Regions from separate parts of the Homo sapiens genome. Here region 1 is linked to region 2. Evidence: promoter capture Hi-C in human tissues and cell types (Jung and others, 2019). All regions are on one chromosome and are shown on one strand. Each heading gives the region's core, a stretch centred on a gene start or on the middle of the fragment in contact. The rest is flanking DNA. Distances are from core to core; before and after follow the strand shown.

Evidence for each region. Contacts are between HindIII fragments. The study calls those that stand out against the background at their distance.
Region 1: a contact is called between a fragment that was not itself captured here and the fragment with the promoter of NEK9 in region 2, in 1 of the 25 tissues and cell types used here (hippocampus).

What each region holds. Positions count from the first base shown.
Region 1 is chr14:74,902,266-74,908,557 of GRCh38, reverse strand. DLST (dihydrolipoamide S-succinyltransferase) reads right to left here. Exons shown (of 15, transcript NM_001933.5): 15 at 4,815-6,292. The coding sequence ends at 6,228. It overlaps RPS6KL1 (ribosomal protein S6 kinase like 1), which reads left to right. Exons shown (of 12, transcript NM_031464.5): 11 at 1,028-1,123; 12 at 1,434-4,607. The coding sequence ends at 1,544. Among named protein-coding and RNA genes, the nearest start is that of RPS6KL1, 18 kb to the left of the region's middle. The HindIII fragment of the contact is 5,256 bases long and covers 2,136-6,292 here.
Region 2 is chr14:75,125,345-75,131,596 of GRCh38, reverse strand. It overlaps NEK9 (NIMA related kinase 9), which reads left to right and starts at 4,549. Exons shown (of 22, transcript NM_033116.6): 1 at 4,549-4,894. The coding sequence starts at 4,676. It overlaps TMED10 (transmembrane p24 trafficking protein 10), which reads left to right. Exons shown (of 5, transcript NM_006827.6): 5 at 1-128. RefSeq lists enhancers at 4,496-4,625, 4,636-4,685. The HindIII fragment of the contact is 2,914 bases long and covers 2,924-5,837 here.

The DNA.
Region 1 (6,292 bases), core at 3,514-6,013, 220 kb after region 2:
CTTCTTCCCTGGAAGGCTGTTCAATCATCCTGAGCCCGCTGTTCACTCCTCCCACCCATGACCTCGTTGGCTGTCACCCCCAGACCTTAGCTGGAGGATGGGAGAGAGGGGCTCTTTCACCCAGGCAAGCAGCTGCCCTGTCCAGCCTGGGTCAGCCAAGAGCTCAAAAGATCCCCCTGCAAACACTCCGGGAACCTGTGTTTGCAGGTTGCAATCAGAGCAGGCACTCTTGGGAACAGTTGATGGCTCTGCCTTCTGTCCTCCCCTCATGAGCTGAACACTGCAACTGAGGCCAGTTATGTAGGCAGCAAGGGGGAGGCCAAATTGCATTTGAGCAGGAAATAGCCGAAATGGATGCAGCGTGAACTGAAGTCCAGAGCTGACCAGTCCATCCAGGCTCCCTCCTGCTTTCGTCCCATGGCACGGGGTCCCGAAAGTCCTGGCTGCAATTTCCCCCAGAGTGGCTCTCTCTTTTCCTGTCTCCTCCCACCTCTCCAGCCCAGAGCTCTTGGCCTTCCTCCTGGGGGTTCCTGGAAGCTCATACTTCCCTCCAGACAGACCCTCTGCTCCTCAAAGCTGTGCCTTTCTGGGGTGTGGAGAGGTCCTATTTTCTTTTATTGCCACGCCGCTGCCTTGGCCCCGATGGTAGCATGCCATGGCCTGCTGCCAAATGAACAGCCCGTGTGGATTTTTAAAATAAGGAGACAAGTTCCATCACTATTCCCAAGAGTGCCTGCCCTGATTGCAACCCAAGATAGTTGCTTCTAGCAAGCTTGGAGCCAAGAGACCTAGGTTCAAACCCTGAACTCAGCACAAGTCCCTTTACCTCTCTGGGCCTGTTTCTTGCCTTTCGTGGATAACATAAAGGCACTGCTTAGCCATCAGGCACTGTGTCTGGCTGTAGCAACTATCATTATTGTCATCCTCCTCATGGGCTGTGACATGGGGAAAAAAAATCCTGGCTGCCACTGGAGTGTAGACGGTCCTGGGGTTGCCTCCTCAGAGGCCCTTCCCTGTGTCCTCCCAGGCACTGTCCCAGAGCCACCCTTCAGGAATCCAGGCCCACACCCAGCTCCAGCTGCCCGAGTGGCTCAGTCGCCCAGCGGCCTCTCTGCTGACTGAGGTGAGGTGTAGCCCGGCCAGAGGAAGCAGCTGCCTAGCCTGAGGAAGGTGCTGGGAGGGGCACAGAACTGTGTCTGAACCACGTGTGCTTCGTGCTCAGTGTCTGATGTGGGTGCAGAGGGCAGTAGGGGCAACACATTTCTATATGTTGGTGGCCAACCACCACCAATGTTCCCAGGGTAAAATGGGGGTTCTGTGGGCCAGGCTGCCAGGGAGCAGGCCCCCTAGAGGCCATAGTGGTTGGAGTCCCTGGAGGTCACCCCATGCCTCCACAGCTGGAGTGGCCCAGCTGACTGGGCCTCTCTCTGCAGCTGCTGCAGTTCGAGCCTACCCGGCGCCTGGGCATGGGAGAAGGTGGTGTCAGCAAACTCAAGTCCCATCCCTTTTTCAGTACCATCCAATGGAGCAAGCTGGTGGGGTAAGAGGGCAGAGCGGGTGACGGAAGCAGCTGGCCTGGTCTGGATCGCCTCTCCTCCTTGCCTGACACCCAACCCAGGGCTGGCCCTCTATCAGCGGGCTTTGGGCGAGGAATGGAGGGCACTGTCTGTCCTGCTGGGCTCCCACTGGGGCCTCAGAATTATGGCCACCACCCAGGAAGGGCCAGCTCCTGGAAAAGCTGGAGGTGGGGGCAGTCAAGGCTTGCCCTGCTAAGCAGCTTGAACCATCTACCCATCAGTCAACAGACCCGTTGAGCATGTGGACTCACCATGTTAAAGGTTGCCTTCTGTGGCACTGGCGCTGAGCTGTTGACCACCTGCTGCACCCTACTGTGAGGTTCTGTGACTCACTCACTGCCATGTTGTGCCCCACTCAGGACATCTCTGGAGACTCATCTCAGGACACTGATCCACTGGCTCAGTGGACCCAAACCAGACTGTCCTGGCTAGTCCTCTTAGTCACACAGCGAGTAGGCCTCTTCCACCAGAAGCTGTTCGTGCAGCTGGGGAGGCCCAGAAGCAGGGATGCCATCTGTTGTGCAGGGAGGGATGAGGTAGGGGACAGGATGACCCCCACCCCCACCCCCCCACCCCCGATTCCTGACCATGCCCCCTATCTTGTGATTTCAGACTTGGGAGAGCAAAAGGGAGGGGAAGAAAATAAGAGTAATGGGGGGAGGAAGGAATGCATGGGTCTGCCCCTTAGAGCAAGTCTGAAACCAGAATCAAGAGTCCTCCTCCCCAGTGGGCCTGTGTGGGGGAAGAGGGGCAGCCTGCCCCAGGGGTGCAAGAGGACAGCAATTCAGCTTCCAGGCCAAAGCAGTTTAGACAAGGTGTGCCCATCAGGACTCCCTCTCAGGCCCTGGCTGTTTACCATGTCACTGCCTACTGTGACTTCATGCCCTTTTGGGATAAGAAACCACAAAACGCATGGAACAACTATCCATGGCTCTTAGCCAGAAATGTCTTGCCTCTGGTCTCTGAAAAGCTGGGGTGAGTGGTTACCTCAAAGACAATTGCCTCCAGTTTGGGGGCTCCTCTCAGGGTTCACCCTGTCACCGGGGCGTGGGACCGACCTGGGAAATTTCCACTAGAGTTTTGCCCTCAGCTCCTCCCTGCCAGCATCCCAGTCACCACCAGGTGGCGCTTCTGACACGGTCCACGTGCCTGGCTCTGAAGGCCCAACTGTCAGACCAGACCCCTCACTCATGGTGGGGAGACTTGACTTCCTCGGGCTCTTCAGGAGACTGAGACAGAGAAGACAAGTGAAAGCGCAGCCTGTACATGACTCTCTGTGGTCCACGTCCTGCCTCTCCCTGGGGTTTACACGGCCCCAATAAAGCCTGCTCTGGCCTACGGTGTTCTCGCTTCTTCCATGCAATGACCACGGCTCATTGGGGCAGGTTGGAAGGCTCCCCTGTAGAAGCTCCAGAGTGAAGTCAAGAGCGAGCTTGGGGCTGCCAGGAAGTAGGACGCAGGGCTGGTGGTGAGCAGCATGCCATGTGGGCCTCAGGGGAAGGGGTGGGGTCGGGGAGGACCAGGTTCTGTGGGGAAGAGGATGAAGAAGCCTTGGAAGAGGCTCATGGTGCCTGGGGGAATACCAGTTTCATCCTCACAGTGACCCCTTGCAACAGACGGTAGCTCCTGAGAAAACTGAAGCTCAAAAAGGTTAAGGACACAACCTAGCCAGAGTTGCAAGTTAGTGTTCCTTCTGCTACTCTCCCTAAGTCAGGCTGGACCACTTCCAACCACCGCTTCATGAAGCACAAGTCCCTTCTGGAACTTCTGTGCTTCATCCACCCAAAGCTACACATCTGACACTTTGTTGGGCCCTGAGTTTAGAATACTGTGGGTCCCAGCTCTTACAGTCGACCTCCTTTCGATAAAATGGGGTAAATAATGCCTATTTTGCAGGTTTACCAGATAGATAAATTAAAGCTTCTAACACCAAATCCTGTTCTTCCTTTCATTCAACCTAATTTGTTTTTCTATCTACTAGAGCTCTAGTTCTACTCTCTGGGACCCACTTCCCTCCTGTGACAGACCTTCACAGAGGGATGGCCTCACTGCAAGAGCTCAGCAGACAGGGACTCTGGAAAAGACAAGGCTGTGTTTAAGCCTGGACTCCATCACACCTGCCACCTGCAGTCTAGGTTAGCTACCCACCCTGTACACTCACGCTCACTGACCACTGCTCCTAGGTCATCAACCCTCACCTGTTCATGTGTATTGACCTTGAGCATCTTGGTCCACAAGGCTATCAAATCCAAATGAAATGAGATGCCCCCACTCCTCCCAAATCCATCACTGAAATAATGTAAGCCCACACAAAAAATGCAAGTCTACTGGTGTTTTGAAAGGGCTTCACAAAGATGGTGACCCCAAATTCTCTATTCTAGAGTATGGCTTGACAGGCTCAAGGAAGGTGGGGCACTAAGAGACTATGATGCTTTATGGAAACAAAACAAAAAACATCCTAAGCCCCCCAACCATCTGTATGGACCCCTCGTCTCAGTCAAGGGTATTCCAAAGTTAACCTGAAACGCTAGTTCGGGCCATGGTGGGAAGAGGGAGCCAGCCATTCCTCATTATACTCCCCTCCCTTTTGGAATTACTGTTAAAACAGGCTCCTTAAGTCTGATGAGAAGCATTTACAATCTATTTTCTCTGAAGCCTGCTGGCTGGAGGCTTCATCTGCATAAAACCTTGGTCTCCACAACCCCTTACTGTAACCCAGACATTCCTTTCTATTGATTCCAGGTCTTTAGATAATAACTCTTTCAACCAATTGCCAATCAGAAAATCTTTGATTCTGCCTATGACAACATCCCCAGGTCTTGAGCTGTCCTGCCTCTCCAGACCAAACCACTGTACATCTTACATGTACTGACTGGTATCTTATGTCTCCCTAAAATGTATTAAATGTATAAAACTAAGTTGTAGCCAGACGACCCTGGACACATGTTCTCAGGATCTCCTAAGAGTTGTATCACAGGCCATCAGTCACTCACACTTGGCTCAGAATAAATCTCTTCAAATATTTTTACAGAGGTTGACTCTTTTTGGCAACACTTTCCCGGCTGGCAGTCAGGGTTCTACCTTCTGTCAAATTATGAGTGTTAAGTTCCACATAAGGGATTTCTGATTTCACAAAATAAGCAACAGGACCTTGAGTGGCTTTCAATAATTTCAGTGCAACAGTGCTGGGGACTTGTACCACCTCAGTAGCCAAAAGGAACAGATACAGGAACCCTGTTTGAGAATATCTGCCCTTTAATTTGCATTTAAAATCAGTTTCTTTAAATACTTTAGTTACAAGTTCTGAATAGTGAAGACAGAGTAGTAGATGCTGCAGGCACTCAGTATTGGCTCCCACCCCTTCCCCCCTCCCCCACCCCCAGGCCTCACTTCTTGGCTTAAGATACAAAAGGGCACTCTCTACTGGCCCTGGTGTCAAACGTCAGCAGCCTCAGGCCTGGATGCAGTTGGATACAAAGCCATGAATCCCAGTGGCTCCAAGGAATTCCAATGATTGTGCCCAGATCCACGGGCAACACACCTTAGAAATGACCTCATCCGTTTCACCACTAGGTACTAACACCCTCAGGGTGGTTTCCTACCCCAGTCCACGTCCTCCAGATCTGTGTCCTGCAGAGGAAGAGACAAGGCCCCGCTATAACGCAGGAAGGAACAAAAACTGCCTCCTCAGCCCAGGTGCTTACAGCAACTTAACTGAAAAGCTCAAGGCAATGTGAGTCAGTCTAGAGGAGACCTCCCTTCCCTAGTCTCTACCAGGCTCTGGCCCTTCCTCGGGACCACGCTTGGTCCCACTGCCATGATGTGCTAGAATCTGCTCTAAGAACAAGGTGCTAGAATGAGGCCCAGCAACCAGCAAAGGGGTTGGAAAGGGTTGCTACAGCCCCAGCTGTGTGAGATTGTGCCAAGACGAGTCTTCTTGGTGTCAGCCTATGATGGAGAGCGTGAGGGCAGGCCTGGGCTCTCCTTCTATGATGATTACAATGCATGACCTCAGGGGACCTCTGCCCTCTCCTCCCACTCACACACCCAGATCCCCTGGCCTGTGCTTCCTGGAAGAGGTAGAAGAGGCATCTTGAAGTCAATGACAACGGAGAATGAAGGTGCCATTGAAGAAGCAAAGCAGCACCTCTTTGCCTGTGTTCAATCCCTCCACACAAGTGGAATCAAGGGAGAATGTGCACAGCCAGGACAGAGGCTGCTCTGAGCTTGGGAGGCACAGCATCCTCCTAGAAGTCTCTGCAGAACAAACTTTCAAAAGATAGGAACTTAATCACATGGTCCCCAGGGGTTTCTCTATAGTATACCAGCACTAGGGAAAAGCAAAATCATCTTTGCAGAGAGCTGATGGAAGAAAGGCAGGAATATGAATGAGCATCCATTAAGGCTCTCTCTCTTAAGCCTAAGGAATTAAGATATTCGAGGCTATGAGACAGGTGCAGAGAGGGAGAGCCTGGCAGGAACGCCAAGAAAAGACCTGTGACTGCTGGTTACACAGTGCTCTGCTTCCTTGCTTGAGGCCAACAGCATGTGTCTGCCTGTCACCAGGCTAACCCGGGACCCATGAGGGGACAGGGAGAAGACTGGTTTTCAGTTCCTGCATGATCAACTTGTAGGGTGTGTGGGTTCCTCCTAAAGATCCAGGAGGAGGACTCTGGGATCCTCTACCGCTGCCTTGATTTTGCGGAGGAAAGTCA
Region 2 (6,252 bases), core at 3,300-5,799:
CCCCTGTCATAAAGCCATTTCTTGGTTTGTTTGGGAAAGAGGCATATGGGATTTATACAGATTCACTTGTAAATGTTGGATTGGGGATTTTTGTGTAAATTTTCTCAAATAAAGGCTAGCAGAAACCATTTTAGGTGTACTGTTACTCTTGAGTACTTCTATGTCTGGATTGGTGATAATTCTTCCATATTTCTCTTTTAAATTATGGCAAATTATACCTGATGAATTAGAGAAAAAATATTGTTATTCTTCAGTTACTGCAGATCGATAGTTTATATGAGCTAGTAAAAGATTATCATATTTTGTATGTAATATATGTAAATTATATATATATATATAATTAAGAATCCTTAATTATGCATCCTCAGACCAAATATGGTTCTGTAAGCTAGGCATTTTATTCTCTTTATCTTCTCTCTTTTGGAAACTGTTACTATTAGGTTCGCACAAAAGTAATTGTGGTTTTTGCAATTAAAATTGCAATTGCATAGAATCACTCCTACAGAGAGCCATCTCCCCTGCCTTTCATTCCTAAAAGACCCCCACCCCCCACCCCCGGTATATGAATCCTCAGGACTCACTTTTTAGGCCTATCATATCCAATGCAAAACCCCACTCCAGGAGGTAAACGTCTTTTCTCCTCTCCTTTCACTTACAGTTGAACATTTTTCACAAAGCGACTTTCCAAGAGCCAATATGAAGTGCTTTGCACACCCACTGGCTGGCCTCTTATTTATCCTCTTATCTCCATTCTCCCTCAAATAAATTTTATTATGAATCCATAGTGTGTAAAGTAGTGGTTCCCATTATTGGGGTATAATTTTTTTTTCTTTTCTTTTTTTTTTTTTTTGAGACGGAGTTCACTCTTGTTGCCCAGGCTGGAGTACAATGGCATGATCTCGGCTCACCACAACCTCCGCCTTCCGGGTTCAAGCAATTCTCCTGCCTCAGCCTCCCGAGTAGCTGGGATTACAGGCATGTACCAGCACGCCCAGCTAATTTTGTATTTTTAGTAGAGATGGAGTTTCATTATGTTGGCCAGGCTGGTCTTGAACTCCCAACCTCGTGATCCACCCACCTCAGCCTCCCAAAGTGCTGGGATTACAGGCGTGAGCCACCGTGCCCGGCCCAATACATGCTTTATAAATCATTTATTTAGTCTGCTGCAGTGGTGTCTCATAAAATGTTGAGCTGCATGTATAATTTTAAATTTTCTAGTATCACATTAAAGAAGTAAAAAACAGGTAAAATTTGCTGATTCTCCAGCCTCCCGAGTAGCTGGGATTACAGGCACATGCCACCACGCCCAGGTAATTTTTGTATTTTTAGTAGAGATGGGGTTTCACCATGTTGGCCAGGATGGTCTCGAACTCCTGACCTCGTGGTCTGCTCACCTTGGCCTCCCAAAGTGCTGGAATTATAGGCATCAGCCACTGTGCCCAGCCGAAAATTATTTTTAGTAGTGTATTTAACCTAATATACCCAAAATATTATTTCAACATATAGTTAATATAAAAATGGTTAATGAGATGTTTTGCATTCCATTTTTCATATAAAATCTTGAAAATCCAGTGTGCATTTCAAGCTATACCGCATCTATAGCTTAAAATTAGACTAGCCACAATTCAAGTGTTGAGTAGCTATATGTAGCTAATGGCTACCGTGGCAGACAGTGAAGGGTATAAACTTGGGTTGGTCTTTGGTAGATTCTTTCATCTTGACAGTAACTCTATGGCCCCTGGGAATTTGCCATTCACAAATTGGAAACTAATGCAAAATAGCATTCTAACCATTCACTTGTTAAAGTACAATGTGGAAATAGTTTGGTTTCAACCAAAGGCGCTTTAAAATTTTACACCTTGGCCAGGTGCAGTGGCTCACACCTGTAATCCCAACACTTTAGCAGGCCAATCACTTGAGGTCAGGAGTTCGAGAACCAGCCTGGCCAACATGGCAGAATGCCCTCTCTACTAAAAATACAAAAATTAGCTGGGCATGGTGGCGGACGCTTGTAATCCCAGCTACTCAGGAGACTGAGGCATGAGAATCACTTGAACTTGGGAGGTGGAGGCTGCAGTGTGCTGAGATCATGCCACTGCACTCCATCCTGAGTGACAGAGTGAGACTGTCTCCAAAAAAAAAAAAAAAGTTATACCATTAGAATAAATGTTGACTATTTTTGAACTTATAAATATTCAAAGGTAAGACAATTAGTTTCAGTTATATCCAATATAATGAAGAATTCAGCAGGAATGTCTCTGCTCTATAATAGGACATGTTTCTTCTAGGCTTGTAGTATCTATGCATTATCATTAGAACAATTCAGTTTCAGGCCAACCACGTTATAGAAAACTAGTTCCTCGTTGCAAAGGTGCCAGAAAAAAATGAATTTTTAAGCTTAGGCTGAAATCTATTCAGCCTCTTTGAAAGTCAGCATTCCCAATTTTAAGTAATTGGTTTTTTCCCATTCAACTGAGAAACAATTTATTGAGCATCTTTTCTGTTTAACAGAGTTAATCGAGAATAACAGAATTAAGTTAATAGAATTAACAGATTTAAGCCAAACTAAACTCTGGAGTTTATCTAGATAAACAAGAGGCAATACCTATCCTCAAAGTGCCTTCTAATTAATAGGAGGATGTAGATGGAATGGCCTCTACCTGAAATGATCTCTCTACTTTGTTTAGACTTAACATTTTGTATATTCCTGCACTCACACAGCAAGTTTGGCTTGGACAGATGCCACTCCTAAATGCCTCTCTAGAATCTTGCACTTTAATAGCCCTTATAGAAACTGTTTTAATTGCCTGGTGGTTTTCTGTTACATGTAAGCTCTCTTAAAGTAGGAACTTTTCACAAATCGATATGACACAATGTATTTTTATGTATTTGAGACAGGTTCTCACTCTGTTGCCCAGGCTCGAGTGCAGTGGCATGATCTTGGCTCACCGCAACCTCCGCCTCCCCAGTTCAAGCAATTCTTGTGCCTCAGCGTCCCAAGTAGCTGGGATTACAGGTGTGTGCACGCCTGGCTAATTTTTGTATTTTTAGTGGACACGGGGTTTCACCATGTTGGCCAGGCTGAACTCGAACTCCAGGCTTCAAGTGATCGGCCCTCCCAAAGTGCTGGGATTACAAGTGTGAGCCACCACGCCCGGCTAGGCACATGGCTTTCTCTTAGCCCCATCACATCCTGCTTTTTCAGATTGCTGGGTTCAACTTCCCAGCTCCCTCTTACTAGGTCTGTCACATTAAGCAGGTTACTTAGGTACCTCTGTTTCTGTAAAATGGGAATGTTAGGATAATACATAATACATAATACATAGGATAATACATAATAATGTGAGATAATACGTAAAAAACCTTTAGCATAGTACCCAGAACATAACACTCAATAAATGTTAGCTGTTATGTCTGTGATGTAGACCACATTCTCACAACAAAACAAGCTTGGAGATGAGAAGTTGCCCAAGGTCACATAATTGCCCAAGGTCACATAACTGATGGAACACCTATTGTTCACCGTATTGCTGTTTTCCTACTTGACGGTAGGGAGAACATTATTGCAGATTTCCTGTTCCCAAACAGTGTGTGGCACCAAGTGCTCAAAGAATGTTTCATGATATCATATGGTCAAATATCTGGAAAAACACATAGAATAAATTGAATCTGGAAAAAGAGACGGGGGAGAAGGAAAGTGTCAGGAGAGTTGACTTAAAATATTTTTGGAGTTGTGTAGAAGAGGGAGGGACTTAGGATGGCCCTGGGAGAAAGAACTCGGCCCAGGGACCGAGATGACCGGAGGCAGACATTTAGGCTGTCTATATTATTATTATTTTTTTTTTTTTTGAGACAAAGTCTCGCTCTGTTATCCAGGCTGGAGTGTAGTGCGCGATCTCGGCTCGCTGCAACCTCCTCCTTCCGGGTTCAAGTGATTCACCTGCCTCAGCCTCTGGAGTAGCTGGGATTACAGGTGCCTGCCACCACGCCTGGCTAATTTTTGTATTTTATAGAGACGGGGTTTCACCAGTTGGTCAGGCTGGTCTCAAACGCCTGACCTCAGGTGATCCGCCCGCCTCGGCTTCCTAACATGCTGAGATTACAGGCGTGAGCCACCTTGCCCGGCCATATTATCTTTACTATACTATCTCTCTAAAAAAGAATGCTGTCCAACGTTGGAATGGGGAAGAAGGTGTACACTGGGAATGCTTCCCCAATCACCCTCTTGTCACAGACCTGACGTCAAGATGAGACTGGACGACCTCTGGGCCTCCAAGTTGTATGAGTCCGGACCGGGGAGGCAGAGAAGGGTCAATAGACCCGAGAGGCCGTACCGTCAGTGATGCCCTTGTTCCCGTGGGAGCCCTTCGGTTCCACGCGGTTCCCACCACGCGCCCGCCAACCCTAGCCCGAGGCCTCACTTTGCAGGCCTTCCCCGAAAGCGGGAAGCCTTGGCCGCTAGACTAGCCAAGAGGGTAAGCAAAGGCGGAGGAAACTCAGCCAGGCCGGAAACACAGAGAACTGTTTCCGGGTCGGGGGGCAGGAGCCACCATCGAGCTTCGCGGGGTTGCTGGGCTGACGGATCCGCGGGCCGGCATCTGAAGCGAGCGGGACGCAGCGCGGCCAGGGCCTCCGGGCATACGCAGGCTGGTCCCCAAGGCCCGCGGCCGCCGCCATGTCGGTGCTGGGCGAGTACGAGCGACACTGCGATTCCATCAACTCGGACTTTGGGAGCGAGTCCGGGGGTTGCGGGGACTCGAGTCCGGGGCCTAGCGCCAGTCAGGGGCCGCGAGCCGGCGGCGGCGCGGCGGAGCAGGAGGAACTGCACTACATCCCCATCCGCGTCCTGGGCCGCGGCGCCTTCGGGGAAGCCACGCTGTACCGCCGCACCGAGGTAGCGGCCCTCGGCGCCGGCCGCCCTGTCTGGCGCTGTCGGGTCGCCCCGAGTCCCTCCTTCTCGGCCCCGCTTTCCCAGCGTCGTGAGCTTAGTGCTTTAGGCGCCCACGGGGTATATGTCTTAGGGTCTTCACCACTCTTCCCACTCACCGGCACTAGAAATTGGCTAGATCATTGGTTTGACTAGTCATTTTTGATTGTCCTAAGTCACCTAACCGTCTCTTGAGCTTTAGTTTCCCCATCTGTAAAATGGGCTTACTGATAATACCTTGAAATCATCTTTTTCTTTTTTTTTTAAGATTATCTTGAGAATCAAACGAAGGCTCTGTTCTGTAAATTAAAGTGGTATACGAATGTGAGGTATTGCCAAAACTTCCTTCCTCTCATGCTGTATATATAGTTCTCCAAGGTCGGGGTGAGGAGGAGGGGCATAGCTTCAAAATCCCCACACCCGTGGCAACTCCGTTATTTTTGTCATTATCTTTAAGTTCAGCAGTGATCACTCAGTTGGAAGCTTTTCTTGAAGCTCATTGGGAAGATCTTTGTGTGTTGGTTCTTTATCAGTGTTTATCTTGCAGGGTTTATGCATGGGAAATACTTTGTTGGTATATTCTAAGCCATTAGTTCTTAATTTGGGGGGCACAAGGACCCCTTTGATAACCTAAGCAAAGTAATCTTGCCCCCTCCATCAACACATTTGCACATATGCACATCCTTTGGAGAGATCCATGGATCACGGAATCCCAAGTTAATATATACTAGTGTAAAACCCTGCAGTGATTATTCTACTTCCAAAAACTAACGATACACTAGATTTGATCATAAAATCTTACTTTAGGGTAAACATTTAATGAGAACTTGCTGGGGTTGCTGAAGGTGATTCATCCGTCGGAAATCCATCTGCAGTTCTGGTGTGTGTTCCAAGCCAGCATACTTTTAAGGCTGAAAGATGGAGAAGGAGAGAAGTGGTTGCAAGAGAATATTTTTAAGTGTTCTTTTTTATCCTGATGCCACGTTAATGTATGATGTTAGAGTTAGTTATTCTTAGTAGTCTGTTTTCTTTTTTGCACTCAAAATGAGAAAGAGGAGATAAGGATTGTTATTTCTATATTTTAGTTAGAGAAACTAAAACAGTATACTTAAGTGACTTGCTCACTTAAGTTACAAGTAAATCTTGGACTAGAACTAAAGTCTCACATCTTGCCCATTGCCTTTTTATTATTATCCTGTTGAACTTGATTACTGGGTTGGTTTTGAGTTAAATTTGATTACACTTCCCAAAAATTGCATAGCGTTGTCCATATCACCAAATATTTATTAGATCTGTGAATTTACAAAAGTTCAGAAGCACTCTTT